Regions from separate parts of the Homo sapiens genome. Here region 1 is linked to region 2. The links are contacts of gene promoters, found by promoter capture Hi-C in blood cells and fetal thymus (Javierre and others, 2016). All regions are on one chromosome and are shown on one strand. Each heading gives the region's core, a stretch centred on a gene start or on the middle of the fragment in contact. The rest is flanking DNA. Distances are from core to core; before and after follow the strand shown. Region 1 has its middle 14 kb from the start of NANOS2. Region 2 holds the start of NOVA2 (NOVA alternative splicing regulator 2).

Region 1 (2,700 bases), core at 108-2,607, 45 kb after region 2:
TATGCTACAATATGAATTGTTGCTTATCTAAAATTCAAATGAAACTGGGCATCCTGTATTTTACCTGGCAACCTTAGGTGGAGGAAAACAAAAAGAAATCTGAGGGGCAACAAAAAAAGCCAGGAGAACTGGTTAAAGGAGCCGAGGCGTCCACCATCTGGAATCCCAACTGGGGCATGCCCAGCTTACTGCCCGTAACTCCTGTATCCCTTTCCTCTCTGCCCTTCTGTCACCCTTCTCTGTCCCTCTGTGCCCCCCATCTCTCTGTCCCCTCTCTATGTTCCTCCATCCTCCCTCCCTCTGTCCCTCTGCTCCCCATCCTGTCCCTCTGTCCCCCCTGTCCCTCTGTCTCCCTCTCTCTGTCCTTCTGTCTCCTTCTCTCTGTTCATCCTCCCCCTCTCTGTCTTTCTGTCCCCCTCCTCTGCCCCTCCTCTCTGTCCCTCTGCCCCCCACCTCTGTCTCCCCTCTGTCCCCTCTCTCAGCCCCTGGATCCCTCCCTCTCTCTGCCCCTAGTTTCTCAGTCTCCACTTTCCCTGCCTCACACGCTCCCTGCTTTCTGTCCCTACGTTTCCCTCTCTTTTTTCGTTGGTGTCCCTGTTTTGCAGTCCTTCTGTCCCTCCCGCCACCCCCAACTCCTCTTAGTTCCTCAGTCAGTCACTACTCCTGGAATCTGCCTCACACATTAAAACCAGTTGAGTCACTGTTCTCACTCCTACCAAGCTGTCAAGTGGGGGCTGGTTTTGGGGGACAAGGCCTCAGGGGCAAGTGATGGAGAATGGGAAACACTTTCAGGGGCACTACCCCCTCCGCAGTCAGAGCTGATGAAGCTTTGGGCTGGGAATAGGTGCTGGGACAAAGAGACGTTCTGCCAGGCAAATGCTCGCTGCCACCAAAATCAGAGAGTCTAGCAAGTCAGAGATTTCTCCAAAGTCCCCTCCATTCTCCTGCCTTCAACTGCCATGCCTTCAGAGAAGTCTGTTCTCTAAAGAGGCCTCTCCGGCCGGGCGCGGTGGCTCACACCTGTAATCCCGGCACTTTGGGAGGCCGAGGTGGGCGGATCACCTGAGGTCAGGAGTTCGAGACCAGCCTGGCCAACATGGTGAAACCCCGTCTCTACTAATAATACAAAAATTAGCCAGGCGAGATGGCAGATGCTTGTAATCCCAGCTACTCGGGAGGCTGAGGCAGGAGAATTGCTGAACCCGGAGGTGGAGGTTGCAGTGAGGGGAGATTGCGCCACTACACTCCAGCCTGGGCGACAGACCGAGAGTCCGTCCCTAAATAAATAAATAAATAAATATTTAAAATGAGGCCTCTCAACCAACACCTTCACGCCAGCATTCTGGTGAGGTCTCCGTGTCCCTGTTTCTGGCCCACCTGCCCTTGCCTCTCACTCCTCTCTGCCTGTTATCTTCCGTATTTCTCTGAGTGTCTGTCTAACCAGGTCTTCCTTCTCCCATTGATTTTTTTTCCTGCATCTCCACCCCACTTCTGCAGAATTGTCTTTCTCCTTGTCTCTTCGCAGGGATGGGGTCTCTGTGTGTCTCCCTGAATCACTTTCCCTGTCTCTGTCCGTGTCTGCATCTATTTCTCCCTGTCTGTGTACCCATCGTTGCTCAGAGGCGCGAACAGAATTCACTTGGGACAGTGTAAGCAAAAAGGACTTATTAAGGGACACAGAGCCTCTCAGAAGAAACAGAATCTAGGCTGAGCCTCCAGGGCATTCTCAAATCCAGCGCTCAGAAAGGGCCGTCCAGGAACCGCTGCTCCTCCTGCGCGATCAGGAAGCCGCCAGCCGGCTCCACCGCCGCAGCCTCTCGCCGGGATCTGCACTGGCCTTCGGGCTGCCTCTCGCCCAGCTTACTTCGGTAAGAAATTCAAGCTTCCCGCGGAGGCACCTGATTGGTGGAACCTAACCTCCGGCCACATGCGCAGCCACAAGGCATTCTGGGAAACGTAGTTTTGAGCCCTCCAGCCGCTGCAGTCGCAGGAAGGTGCGCTAGGAGAGTGGAATAGATGTTGAGAGGCGCCACACCTCCTCCACGTGGTTGCACGCCCTCTCTCTCTGTCCATCTCTGTTTTTACGTGCATGTATAATCTCACTTGCTGTCTTCGTGTGTGTTCTGTCTCCTTGGTTTGATTTTCCCCCCCATCTTTTTCACTCTCCAGAATTTGTTTTTGTTTTTGTTTAGTTTGAGACAGAGTCTCGCTCTGTCGCCCAGACTGGGGTGCAATGGCGCGATCTCGGCTCAGTGCAACCTCCGCGATTCTCCTGCCTCAGCCTCCCGAGTAGCTGGGACTACAGGCACCCACCACCACGCCCGGCTAATTTTTGTATTTTTAGTAGAGATGGGGTTTTGCCACGTTGGCCAGGCTGGTCTCGAACTCCCGACCTCAGGTGATCCACCTGCCTCGGCCTCCCAAAGTGCTGGCATTACAGGCGAGCCACCGTGCCTGGCCCCCACGCTCGTTTTATTTCAATTCTTCCATCTCTATGGCCTTCTCTGTCCTTTTTCTTGGTCACCACCTGTATGACCAGTGCCAATTCTCATAGCCCCCTGCCTCACCATTATCCTCATCCTCAGTTCCAACCTTACTATCGGGGATCTCCCTCTTGACCTTCACCCCACTCTCAGCTGAACCAGAAGCTCAGATCCCTAAGGAAGAAGAGGAGGGAGAGGTAAGACATGGGTGTCCCGT
Region 2 (2,700 bases), core at 17-2,516:
CCCAGTTTCTCTCTCTCAAGCTGTGTGCCCTTGAAGAAGCCACCCTCAATGTTCCCAGGCCTCCACTTTGTCATCTGAAAACAAATTTTTCTTAATGACATGAGTAGTAATACTGTACAAGGGCCAAGGCTGTTTTGTTCTCTATTGTATCGCAGCATCAGGGACAGTGCCTGGCACTTAGTAGGTAGGCCCTGAGTGCTGTTGTTTGAATGGAGAGCCAGTTGTGCCCCAGGGCAGGTGCTGCAGGCTGCAACTCCAGCTCAGTGAATTCAATCCTCTGAGCCCTTTCAGCATCACGGTGTTGATTCTTCAAAGGATGGATGAAAGATTTGAAGGGGAATTTCCCAGCTGAAAGGATTGAAAAAGAGTGAAGTGAAATTTCTTTCTCTTTCTTTCTTTCTTTTTTTTTTTTTTTTTTGAGACAAGGTTTTGCTCTGTCTCCCAGGCTCGAATCTAGTTGCTTGATCATGGCTGACTGCAGCCTCAAACTCCTGTGCTCAAGAGATCCTCCCACCTCAGACTCCAGAGTACCTGGGGCTACAAGCATGTGCTACCACGCCTGGCTAATTAAAAAAAAAATTTTTTTTTTGTAGAGATGGGGTCTCACAATATTGTTGCCCAGCTCGTCTCAAACTCCTGGGCTCAAGTGATTCTTCCGCCTCGGCCTCCCAAAGTGCTGGGATGACAGGCATGAACCACCGCGCCTAGTCGAAATTTCTTGTCTTGACCAAGTGAAGTCAAAGTAAGCTCCTAAGGCTGTTTCCTCATCTGTAAAATAGGGATAATAAGCGTAACTCACAGAGCTGGTCGCTCTGGGGAGTAAATGCGATAACGTCTGTGACGTGCTTGCTTGGAACCGGACCTGGCACACAGTAAGTGCTCAATAAACGTTCATTCAAGGTGAGGAGTGGGGACGGCTTGGAGGAGCCCGGGGTCCTCCCAGCAGCCTGGGGGAGTCGGGTCCAGCTCTCTGCCGCCGGGAGGGGCGTGGCCAACCCAGAGGGACGTGGTCCAGGCTTCAAGGCTGGACCAATGGGGGCGCCGAAGGGCGTGGCCCTACCCGGCATGGGCGTGACCTCGTTGGGTGGGAGGGGCCAGGCGCTGTGGGAGCCTCCGGGAAGAAGATGCTCGGGCCAGCAGCCACCGCCAGCCCCGTCGCCGCCGCCGCCCGCGCCCGCCGCCCCCCGGGCCCCCACTAGCGGCCGCCTCCGCCTCCCACTCCGGCCACGCTCCTCCGGCCCCCCACCCCGAGCAGGGTCTGGGGGGCTCGGCCCTCTTGCCCCAGGGAGCCAAGAAGAAGCGGGGAGTCCCGTCCCCCCAGTGGCGCGTCCAGTCCCCAGCCTCTGTGGTCCCAGGAGAGACCCCACCTCTCAGTTCTTTCCCGGCCCTATCGGAGACCCCCCTCGGCCCTGCCATCCTGCTCACGGCCGCTCTCCAGGCTCTGTCAGCCCCCCGAGAACCGGCTCCCCCCTACCCCCGCCTTCCCTCTCCGGGGCTCCCCCTCCCCCATCCCTCCACCGCCCCCTCCCCCTCCCACCTCCCCTCCCCTCCCCCTCCCCCGCCCCCCGCCCCCCGCCCCCCCCCACCATGAGGATGATGGCCGCCGGCGCGGTGCACGGCCTCTTCACGGCCTCCGCGGCCCCGCAGCCGCCGCCGCCCCCGCCGCCGCCGCCGCCGCAACCCCAGCCTCCCCAGCAGCCGTCGCCGCCGCCACAGCAGCCGCCGCCGCCGCCGCCGCAGCCGCCGCAGCAGCAGCAGCCGCCGCCCCAGGCCCCCCCCATGGAGCCCGAGGCCCCGGATTCCCGCAAGAGGCCCCTCGAAACGCCCCCCGAGGTGGTCTGCACCAAGCGCAGCAACACGGGAGGTGAGAAAGGGCTGCGGCTCGGGGCGGGGGAGCGGGCAGGGGGCCTCGCCTTTCTCCATCCTTTCCCCCCCTCCCGTGGCAGGTGCAAGGGCTCTGGGGAGGGGAGAGACACCCCTCCCCGAGGCGGGGGACAGAGCGGGGAGTTGAGGAGGGGGCTGGACCCCCTCCTCCTCTCGCTGAGGCCCGGGGCTGGGAGCTTTGTCTGCGAGGAGAGGGGTGGGGGGGAGGGGGTGATAAGTGTCCTTGGGGGGCGCAGAAGATGGGGGGCGTGGGAGCCTCAGGGCAGGTGTCTGTGTGTCCTTGAGGGGTGTGTGATGTGACCCTTTCGGAGCAGGGGTGTTCCCCGAGCTCGCGTGTCCTGGCTGGGGGAGGGGAAGGAGTAGAGGCCTGTGGACCGGGAGCTTCCCAGCCTCCCTCCCTGGGGATGTCCTGAACAAGGGTTGTCCCAGATGGAGGCTTGTGTGGCCCTGGCCGGATCGTGCGTGGGGACAGGCTGGGTAGGTGTGTGGGGTGAAATGGAGGAAATGGTGGGTGTGTAAAGCTAGGTGGGAGAATGTGAGGCTAGGACAGGTGTGTATGTGTGTGCGTGTGTGTGTATGTGTGCCCTCTACAGCCTGGATGTGTGACATTAGGGATCAGGAATATGACAGCATAGGGGGGTGTATGAGAAAGACAGGGGACAGGGGCTGGGCTCCATGTTTGAGACCCTCCAGCGGGTACGTGTGACAAGGAAAGGTGTGTGCTTGTCACCCCCAAGGGGGCTGTGGCAGAGTGTGACACATGAGAGGGTGTGTGTGACATGCAAGGAGGTGTGTGGGGGACACCGAATGGGCTGG

What was found. The method cuts DNA at HindIII sites, captures the fragments that hold promoters and counts their contacts. A CHiCAGO score of 5 or more calls a contact.
Region 1: a contact is called between a fragment that was not itself captured here and the fragment with the promoter of NOVA2 in region 2, in 1 of 17 cell types (endothelial precursors). The highest score is 5.5, in endothelial precursors.

What each region holds. Positions count from the first base shown.
Region 1 is chr19:45,927,096-45,929,795 of GRCh38, reverse strand. No RefSeq gene overlaps it. Among named protein-coding and RNA genes, the nearest start is that of NANOS2, 14 kb to the right of the region's middle. RefSeq lists enhancers at 1,955-2,024, 2,330-2,700. The HindIII fragment of the contact is 1,055 bases long and covers 830-1,884 here.
Region 2 is chr19:45,972,431-45,975,130 of GRCh38, reverse strand. It overlaps NOVA2 (NOVA alternative splicing regulator 2), which reads left to right and starts at 1,266. Exons shown (of 4, transcript NM_002516.4): 1 at 1,266-1,864. The coding sequence starts at 1,780. RefSeq lists a silencer at 941-1,100. The HindIII fragment of the contact is 31,968 bases long and covers 1-2,700 here.